Regions from separate parts of the Homo sapiens genome. Here region 2 is linked to region 1. The links are contacts of gene promoters, found by promoter capture Hi-C in blood cells and fetal thymus (Javierre and others, 2016). All regions are on one chromosome and are shown on one strand. The core of a region is centred on a gene start or on the middle of the fragment in contact, and the rest is flanking DNA. Distances in the headings are between cores, read along the strand shown. Region 1 holds the start of ZNF333 (zinc finger protein 333). Region 2 holds the start of LINC01530 (long intergenic non-protein coding RNA 1530).

The links. Contacts are between HindIII fragments. The CHiCAGO score rates a contact against its expected background, and 5 or more counts as called.
Region 2: the fragment with the promoter of LINC01530 here is called in contact with the fragment with the promoter of ZNF333 in region 1 in 2 of 17 cell types (total CD8 T cells and total CD4 T cells); the score reaches 7.3 in total CD8 T cells.

Annotation. Positions count from the first base shown.
Region 1 is chr19:14,688,049-14,693,095 of GRCh38, forward strand. It overlaps ZNF333 (zinc finger protein 333), which reads left to right and starts at 2,000. Exons shown (of 12, transcript NM_032433.4): 1 at 2,000-2,102. RefSeq lists silencers at 1,594-1,643, 1,974-2,343. The HindIII fragment of the contact is 1,516 bases long and covers 1,240-2,755 here.
Region 2 is chr19:51,591,319-51,596,365 of GRCh38, forward strand. LINC01530 (long intergenic non-protein coding RNA 1530) reads right to left here and starts at 3,062. Exons shown (of 2, transcript NR_034159.1): 1 at 2,631-3,062; 2 at 465-1,733. It overlaps ZNF175 (zinc finger protein 175), which reads left to right. Exons shown (of 5, transcript NM_007147.4): 5 at 1-1,192. RefSeq lists enhancers at 1,506-2,141, 2,142-2,777, 2,778-3,413, 3,160-3,469, 3,680-3,729 and a silencer at 3,812-3,979. The HindIII fragment of the contact is 8,842 bases long and covers 1-4,196 here.

The DNA.
Region 1 (5,047 bases), core at 750-3,249:
TCTTGCTATGTGGCCCAGGCTGGTCATCTGGAACTCCTGGACTCAAGCGATCCTCCTGCCTTGGCCTCCCAAAGTGTGCTGTGATTACATGCATGAGCCACCCCGCCCGGCCCAACTTCTTTGTAAGAACATTTAGCTTAAAACACAGATAAATTGTACTGCATAAAGGTATTTTCTTTCTTTATATCCTTATTCTATAAGCTATTTTTCATTTTTTTTTTTGAGATGGAGTTTTGCTCTTGTTGCACAGGCTGGAGTGCAATGGCAAGACCTTGGGTCACTGCACCCTCCACCTCCTGGGTTCAAGCAATTCTCCTGCCTCAGCCTCCCGAATAGCTGGGATTACAGGCGCATGCCACCATGCCCAGCTAATTTTTGTATTACTAGTAGAGACTGGGGGTTTCATCATGTTGGCCAGGCTGGTCTCGAACTCCTGACCTCAAGTGATCCACCAGCGTCGGCCTCCAAAGTCTTGGGATTGCAGGCGTAAGCCACCGCGCCCGGTCTTTTCATATTTTTAAAACCTTTTTAAATGTGAGTAATGTGTTGCACTGCAACATTGTGACAGTTACAACATCACTAGGTGATAAGAAATTTTCAGCTCCATTATAACCTTATGGGATCACAACTGTGTATGTGTTTCGTGGTTGACCAAAACCTTGTTATGTGGTGCATGACTGCACATGTGCTTGATATATAAAGAATACCAGGGAACTAGTGACAGTGGTTGTTTCAGGGGAGGAAAATTTAGGAATAGAGTGAGCCTCCCGTTTGAACTTTTCCCATAGGTATGTACTATGTATACTACATAATAAATAGTTTTTAAAAAGTCAGATCTATGTCTTAGATTCACACATCTTATTTTTAGTGAGAAGGGCAAGCTGTAGAAGAAACAAAAATACATCGTCCTATTTTTAGAATAAAGACAGTTAGTTGACCCGTGAACACCAAGGGTTTGAACTGTGGCTATCCCCTTATAGGTAGATTTTTTTCTACCTTTGTCCTCCTTGGGACAGCAAGACAAACCCCTCCCTTTCCTCAGCCTACTCAGGGTGAAGCTGACGATGAAGACGTTTATTTATGATCTTTACGATCACTTCCACGTAACGAAGAGTAAATATATTTTCTCTTCTTCATGATTTTCTTAATAACACTTTCTTTTCTCTGAGCTTAGTTTATTTTAAGAATATGGCATATAATATACAAAATATGTGTTAACTAACTTTATGTTATTGGTAAAGCTTCTGGTTAACAGTAGTCTATTAGTAGGTAGGTTTTGGGGGAGTCAAAAGAAGTGAATTTTCCACTGCACAGGGTGGCGCCCCAACTCCCGTTGCCTAAGGGTCAGCCGTATAAAAATATACAAAAACAATCTTAAGTATGGGTATATTTTTGTAGGGGATTGGATTAAGCCCATGGATAAAGGTGGAAGGGGTTGGGGAAAAGGAAGGAGAAAAGGGTAAGTTAAATATTGAGCATCCCTAAAGAGACCCGGGGAGGGGTCGGGTGTGCCCCTCTCAACCCTTGAAGCCCAGGTCCCCTCATCCCGCCTTCCGAATGCAAGTTCAGCTCCCATTCCCACCCCAAGCACAAGCCCCGCCCCATTTTTGCCCCTGAGGCGCACGACCCGCCCCTACTACCACCCTGCAAACCAAGGCCCCGCCCACTCCGCCATTGGGGTGCAAGCCCCGCCCATCAGCCATCGGAGGGCAAGCCACACTCCACCCCGCCCCCGCGCACAGGCCCCGCCCCACTTTTGCCCCGGGACCTAAGCCCCACCCCTATCCCTGTCTCTCGGACATAGGCTCCGCCCCCAGCACCACCCTCCATGCTCTGTGGGACCCCACTCCAGAGCCTAACCTCATCCCCCGGGTAAGAATACTAGAATTTCTCCTTGGAGGCTAAAGAAGACGTTAGTTTCTCTGCCGCCGCCTAAGGCTACCCTGGCCACAACAGCCTGAGCCACAGCCACTTCCGTTCCCGGCGGCCCCGAGACCGGAAGCGGAAGTGCGCGCGGCGGCGGCCGACGGCGGCTGAGCTGTGCTGCGCGGCGCGGCGCGGTGCGGCACGGCACGGTGGGAGTGTCTCCGGCTGGCTTGCAGGTGTGGCCCGGCCCCTCGGGAGGGCGGGGAGGGCGGGGAGGGCTCGGCTGGCGCGGGGAGGGACTGGAGGGCCTAGAACAGCTCCGCCTGTGTGAGGGGTTTCCTCCCTGCGATCAGCCGGTGGCCGGCGTGAGGCCCACACAGTCAGGGCCTCGCATCTGGGCGCCCGCCGCCCGGTCTCTCGCTCTCAGGTACCCCCCGTCCGGGCAGACAGGGCTGTCATCCTGTCAAAAGGGAAATCCCAAACAGTCCAGGTCCCACAGCTCAGAAATGTGGTGACACCGGCCCCAGCTCTCACCTGTCCTTCCCAATTTTTAGGGAAAGTGCATAAAGACGGCCCTACCTTGCCTACAGTATGCAAGATAACTGCGAATTAGTAATTCACGTTTTATTTGATATGATACTTAATATTATCTAGCTTTGCAACTGGAAAGTGAGGTCTGGGTCCACATGTGCAAACTGGTTTAATTGATTGGCCAAATTTACTTAAAAAATTGAATGCATCCTCCATTAAGGAATGAATTAGATGACGAGAGATTTCTTTTGGAGACTGACAATTTGAAGTCTTTTAGCTTAATATCTGTTAGCTTGGCTTTGCATCTCTTCCTTTTCCATAACTTTTTCTTTCTTCTTTTTTTTCTTTCTCATAAGAAAGCTTTTGGCCAGGCTTGGTGGCTCACTCCTATAATCCCAGCACTTTGGGAGGCCGAGGCGGGTGGATCACCTGAGGTCAGGAGTTTGAGACCAGCCTGGCCAACATGGTGAAACCCTGTCTTTACTAAAAATACACAAATTAGCCGAGCGTAGTGGTGGGCGCCTGTAATCCCAACTACTCGGGAGGCTGAGGCAGGAGAATCGCTTGAACCCCAGAGGCGGAGGTTGCAGTGAGCTGAGATTGTGCCACTGCACTCCAGCCTGGGTGACAGAGCAAGACTCCATCTCAAAAACAAAAACAACAACAAAAGGAGGAGTTCTTAATTTTTTTTGTTTTTGTTTTTCTTTATTTTCTATGTTTGAGACGACTTTTACTTCTGCTGTGGGCATCAAGTTTCTCACTGTTAGGTTAAGAAAAGCCGTTTCTCAGTTATTTCACAAATATTATTATCAAGAAAACCTAAGACTGTTATTCAGATCTTTTCAAGTTGGCTCCAGTCCTTCCCCCAAGCATGTGAATCACAGAGCTTCAAAACTAATGGAACTTCAGGGAAAAGACGATATAAACTTTGTTAATACTGGAAATTCAAATTGAGTTGGCCATAAGTGGGATGTCTTTTTTAATAATGGGGTTAAAGCTCGTGTCTACTGAGAAATCAGGAAAAAATTAACTCCAGAGGAAAATCATGCATCAGATTTCAGTTTTACGAGTGAGGTGTTTGTTTCCACAAAGAATATATGCGCTTGCCTTGCCTTTTTAAAAAGAATTAATATTGTTTCTTAAAGGTACCTGAAACTTGTGTGATTATGTCTTATGAAAGACAGGCACTTTAAGTTATTCTTATATTTGATTTTTATGGTGTCATATTGTCTTTTTTTTTTTTTTTTTTGAGACAGAGTCTCACTTCATCACCCAGGCTGGAGTGCAGTGGCACAATCTCGGCTCACTGCAGCTTCTGCCTCCTGGGTTCAAGCAATTCTCGTGCCTCAGCTTCCCAGGCAGCTGTGATTATAGGCGCCCGCCACCATGCCCGGCTAATTTTTGTATTTTTAGTAGAGACGGGGTTTCACCATGTTGGCCAGGCTGGTCTGGAACTCCTGACCTCAGGTGATCCACCCGCCTCGGCCTCCCAAAGTGCTGGGATTATAGGCGTGAGCAACCATACCTGGCCTCATACTGTGTTTTGTGTGTGCGTGGGCATATTCCTTCTTAGGCTAGCTATACTGAGTCATTCTTGAGGAGTGTTGATTATTTGGCATATTTTCACTGGGGTGCCCTCAATGAATTGGACCCTGTACATGGGGAAACAGTGGGACTGAAATAGTTACAGTGCTTGCCCCTGTGGAGGCTTTATTCTAGCTAATAATATTGGTAAATTAATAGTGCCAAAGGCAATATGAGAACGTGGAACAGGAGAACTTGGGGAGGATGTCAGGAAACACATCTGAAAAGGAACAAATGTTTGAACCTTCAAGATGAGTTGTACGTAGCTAAACAAGGGGTCTAGCTGTGGAGTGGGGTAGCGGAGGAAACTTGAGAGAACATTCCAGATGTACAGTCTTTCAGGCAGTACGAAGCCTGCTGTGTTCCAGGAGCTGAGAACAGGTAGAGAAAGCTAAAGTAGAGAAAATAAAGTACTGAATGGATGAGCCAGGTGAGAGAGGGAGGCAGGTCCCTGAAGATCATGGTTAGCATTGGATCTTCTTTTTATTTATTTTTTTTCTTTCAGACAGAGTCTTGCTCTGTCACCCAGGCTGGAGTGCAGTGTGGGATCTGGGCTCACTGCAGCCTCCACCTCCCGGGTTCCAGCGATTTTCTGGCCTCAGCTTCCTGAGTAGCTGGGATTACAGGTGTGTGCCACCATGCCCAGCTAATTTTTGTATTTTAAGTAGAGATGGGGTTTCACCATGTTGGCCAGGCTGGTCTTGAACTCCTGACCCCAAGTGATCCACCTGCCTCGGCCTTCCAAAGTGCTGGGATTATAGGCATGAGCCACCGTGCTTGACCTGGACCTTATTCTTTTTTTTTTTTTCTTGACATGGAGTCTTAGTCTGTTGCCCAGGCTGCAATGCCGTGGCACGATCTCAGTTCACTGTAACCTCCGCCTCCTGGGTTCAAGCAACTCTACTGCCTCAGCCTCCCTCCCGAGCAGCTGGGATTACAGGCGTTTGCCACCATGCCCAGCTAATTTTTGTATTTTTAGTAGAGATGGGGTTTCACCATATTGGCCAGGCTGGTTTCAAATTCCTGACCTCAAGTGATCCACCCACCTTGGCCTCCAGCCTGAGCA
Region 2 (5,047 bases), core at 1,812-4,311, about 37 Mb after region 1:
GGATAATAGACGGAGGAATCTGGAGTTTGGTTGGGTGATTAGCTTTGGAATTGATGGGTCCCAGGGAGCTATCTAAAGTTTTCAGTCACATGAGGGCATGCTCACAGATCTGTGAAAAGATCTGTTGGCTCAGAGAACTAAGAGATGAATAAATGTTAGTCCAATGGCCTCATCATGAGATGAGAGGTCAAGAGTTTTGAGTTTCCAGAGGGAGAAGCTACTATTCTAGGCAGCTTGTATGAACTAACTCGTTTATTCCTCACAGCCATTGTAGGAAATAATCTAACCTCATAAACCCCATTTTAGAGATGAGGAAACAGGCTTAGAGAATTTGACGTAAACTCAAGACCGAAAATCTAGGAACAAGAAAAGCCTGGATTTGAACCAAGCTATCTGATGCCAGTGTTTTAACTCTCAACCATTGTACTACTTTACCTCCTCATGACCTTTTTTTTTTTTTTCTTGTGAGATGGAGTCTCGCTCTGTCGCCCAGGCTCTGGAGTGCAGTGGCACGATCTCAGCTCACTGCAAGCTCCGCCTCCCGGGTTCACGCCATTCTCCTGCCTCAGCCTCCCGAGTAGCTGGGACTACAGGCGCCCACCACCATGCCTGGCTAATTTTTTGTATTTTTAGTAGAGACGGGGTTTCACCGTGTTGGCCAGGATGGTCTCGATCTCCTGACCTCGTGATCCCCCCCCCTCGGCCTCCCAAAGTGCCCATGACCTTTTTATTGTTGGGCAGTGAAAGCCATGGTGAAATGAAGAATGTCCTACTGTCATGTGATGTGATCAGAAAACATACTGCCCAGAGTCCCCTGCCCCCACCCCCAAAACCAGTACTTGATCCATCCTTTGACTGTTGTGGCGATTGGCACAAAGGTTGGGCACAGTAGTAGTTAGGCTCATGGGCTCTGGAGCCAACCTACCTGGATGCTACACATCCCAGCTCTGCCCCTCGCTAGTTTGGTGGCAAGCAACTTAACCTCTCTGCCTTAATTTCTCCAGCAGCACAATGGGAATAATAATAGATCTCGCCTTGTGGCTCCTTTGCAGATTACATGCGTTAATTATGTAAAGTCAAGCATTAGAATGGTGGCTGTCCACCATGAGTACAACACAAATGCTCGTTCTTAATGATTCAACAAACATGGAATTTCATTAAATCTGAAATAAAGGTATTTTGAGAAATTGAATTCCGTTATCAAGTGTGAAGTCCTGATCCAGACTCACCTCGTGCACACTATTTACCACAAAGGTGGACTCCCTATTTTAAATGCATTCACTTAAAGAGACCTTTCCCTGTACTAATTAGTGTTTGTTAAGAAGGACCTTCTGGACATAGTTGAAAGAAAGAGAAAAGAAGCAGGTGTGGGGAGGAGGAGAAGGAGAAGGGAGGAAGGGAGGGAGGGGAAAGAAGATGGATGGACAGATGGAAGGAAGGAATTAGGGATGGCAGAAAGGAGATAAAATAAACTCTACTTTTAAAAGAAACCAGGTGGGGTGAGTGGGAGGGCTTCCCTGTGACCTTGGCCTCAGGGGCTCTTTCTGGCTTCCAGATAAGATACCCCTCAGCTTTGCACTGGGTCTCCTGAGGCTTGGAAGTTATGTCCACAGTGAGGTTGGTGTAGAGGGGCAGCCACTCTTTGGAGAGCAACCTGTAGCCCAGACAGTTGATGCCATCATCAGAGGATCCAGGGATCGGAGGATTGGCGGATCCGGGACAGAAGGCGAGGCCTGGAGGATGGGGAGGGGCAGCCATGTGAGCCTCAGGGAGGACCCAGAACCAACCACCCCACTTCCAACACTGATTCACCTCCAGGGCCTCTGCTTGTGGCCAGGATCTTCCCCCTCCAGCATATGGTAGCCTCTGAAAAGCAGGTGGGGCTGGGAGAGGAGCATCCCGCTTAGTTTCACCCTTCCAGAGACACAGGAAGGCATGGAGGCCAAACACCTGTCTCTGACAGGGTCCCCATGCCACAGCCCAGCCCTCCAGTCCAGGGTAGCCCATGTCCCCCTCAGCCCAGGGCGGCCCATACCTGCCTCATCATGTCAGGACCTGCAGCTCCTGCCTCCCACCTGGCAGTGATGTCATCCTCATCATCCCAACCCCACTACACGTTGGAGAAGCCATTTATCTTCAGGTAGTGAGTGGGGTGCAGGGCAAACACCCCTCCAAGGCACAAGCTAACGGCTTAATTGCTGTTGTTTCCCCATGTTCTGGCTTGCAGCACTTGTAACCTCTGGGCTCCTGCAGCCCTTAACATCTGATACCTTTACATTAAGATTTATCATCCTTATCTCTGGACCAGGCTGAATACACCTGTGTCCCGGTGCATCTGGCCAGCGGGTCAAAGGGCCTAGCACACAGATTAACAAATGAATGAGTTCCAGTTACCAAAGTTCAATCCTTGAGGTGGACAGAAGACGCCCAAGGCGTGTCTCCCATCACCCTTCACTCTCAATCCTCCTTATCAAGGGCCTCACGGGAATAGTGATAAGATCTCAGAATATACAGGAGGGAGCAGTTTCGGGAAGGGGGGCATTGGAAGGAAGTGGAGGGCTTGGATCTGGGGAGCAAGCGGGGAGAGTGCTCCGTTCCTTGGTTTTGGGATCTTGCCTTACGGGTCTCACCTGCCCTCCATCCTGGCTTCCACCTGGCAGGGTGTGTTTGTGTCAGAAAGACGATTGTGCGTAACTGTTCACCGCGTCCACGTCCCGAGAGTTGCGCACGCGTGGAGATCTGCAAAACGCTCCCTTTCAGCTCCGCGCATGCACAGAGACCCCACCCCGCAAGTCCTTGCCCTTCGGCCTGGGCAGGCGTCCACTCCCATGGCTGCAGGGCGCGCCGAAGAGCCCACTCTGCATCCCCGAGACGCGGCCCAATCCTAGGAATGTGCTTAGCGCAGGTGCTATCTTCCCTTTTCACATTCCCAATCTCTTTCTCCGCCCCCTCAAACTCTTGCCATACTCCCACAACAGCAGAAAATCTGAAAAAAAAGTCCATCCCATCTTTGCACTGACAGCAGTGCACAGCAGCTGGCAGAGAATTCTGGCACGGCTATTGTGCTTGCGCAGGCGCAGACGGGAAGCGGGCCGGACCGGCCTAGTACACTCTGGGAGGCGTGCGCAGAATGCGCAGCGCTGCCGCGAGGATCTCTGGGAACTGTAGGCCCAGTTTGTCCGAGAGCCGCAAGTGTTTCGGGACGACGCAACGCAGGGGCACCTGGGAGTCGTAGGCGGATGGGCCCAAAGCCTTCCGGGAGTCGTAGTCCTTCCGCCCGCTCCTCGTTTCTTTGGAGGTTGGCCCTTCCAGCTCCAGTTCTGCCCAGGTGAGCGCCCATCCCGCGGCCGGCCGGTCCTGGCCCTTTGTCGCGATGACGTGGCGGAGTTGAGGGTCTCTGTATTTCTCTCCCCCGCGTTCTGGTAGGCGTCCCTGGAAAGATGGCACCCTTTTCCGTGATCTCTCAATCCCTCTCTCCGGGTGGGAGTGCTCTAAGCAGCTGTTGTACCTGCTGACCCGCTTTGGATTCTGCGGCCCAGCCTGACACCTTCTCACTCTCGCCCTTCAACCTGGGTGCAGTGCGAGTGCACCCTCCTCTGTCCTGGTTACAACACAGAGTGGTCAGGGCTGGCCCAGGGGGTGCTCAGGAGGCTGTGGGAACACAGAGGAGGTGCTAGACCCAGCCCAGGGTTCAGGAAAGACCTTACAGAGCAAAGGACCTCAAATCTACCACATCCAAACGAAATCCCAGATTCCCTGTCCTAAACCTGCTCCTCTCACAATCTTTCTGCCTCCTCCCCACTAACTGTCCATCCAAGTGCTCAAGCCAAAATCTTGGAATGGTCGCCAGTGTTCTGTTTCTCTCATCCGCTTCCCTCCCGCAACCAAATCTTGTGTGAGTCTCATCGTCTCTATCTCCAGAAGAGGCCCAGAATCTAACCACTTCTCTCCACTTCCACTGTCTCCATTCTGCTCCGAGCTACCGTTACTCCTCACCTGCATCACTGCAGGGGCCTCCTCACTGTTCTGTTTCTTCCCTTGCCACACTCCACCCTCTATTCAGGCACAGTGCCAGGAAGCCTGTGGAAATATAAATCAGATCCTGTCACCAGTCACTACCCTGCCCCCCAGCTTAAAATCATCCAGTGGTTCCCATCTCAGAATAAAATCCAAGCTCCTTATCCTGCCAACCTCTAAGCTTCTGGTCCTTTCTGGTCGTCCTCAGTCACAACACACTTTCCAATGGGCTGAACACAGCCAGGCCCTGCCCTTCATGTCCTTTGCATTTGCTATTAACTCAATTTGGAGCATTCTTCCCACCCTGACCCAATATCTGTCTACTCATTTTGTTGGCCTCAGCTCAAAGGCCTCCAGCCACCCTAAAGAACCCCCTCCCTGTTCCCCCCCCCCCAGTCATACCACCAAAGATAATTCCCTCGTATTTGGAAAGCATCTTAGTCATTTACTTCCTTATCCATGGCCTGGTTCCTCCATTAGAACATCAGTGCCCTGACAGCTGCAACCTTTCCTATCTTGCTCACTGCTGTGTCCCAGTACCTAGAGCATGCTGGGTACATAGGCGGCACTCAGTGGGTATTTGTTAAATGAATGAATGAAAGTTTGAGCTGAGACTTGAAGGTAAGAGTTAGGTCTACCACAGTGTTTAGGGAAGTGTCTTGCGCAATGAGATCAGCCTGGCCAAAGATGCAAGGGGTTGAAAAACCAATGGGAAGTTCATCTGGCTGAGGTGAGTAGGTAACTAAAACAGGGATGCAACTGGATCTGATAAGGACCTCAGGAAGTGAACCCCAGTACTAGGTGACTGCAGATTCAGAGGTTGAAAAAGCTGAGTTGTCTTCCATAGAGAAGCTGGGTGAAAGGTGGTGTTGCTTCCGGGAGACGGGGAGCTTGGTTAGGTAAGTTTCTGCCTTGGGGTGTGAGAGCTGGTCAGTTGGGCACTGAGATATGAGAGGCCTAGATGGGATCTTCCGTGGGGCATTTGGAGGGCCAGGCTGGTGGACATTGCGATTCAGAGTCACCCACAAAC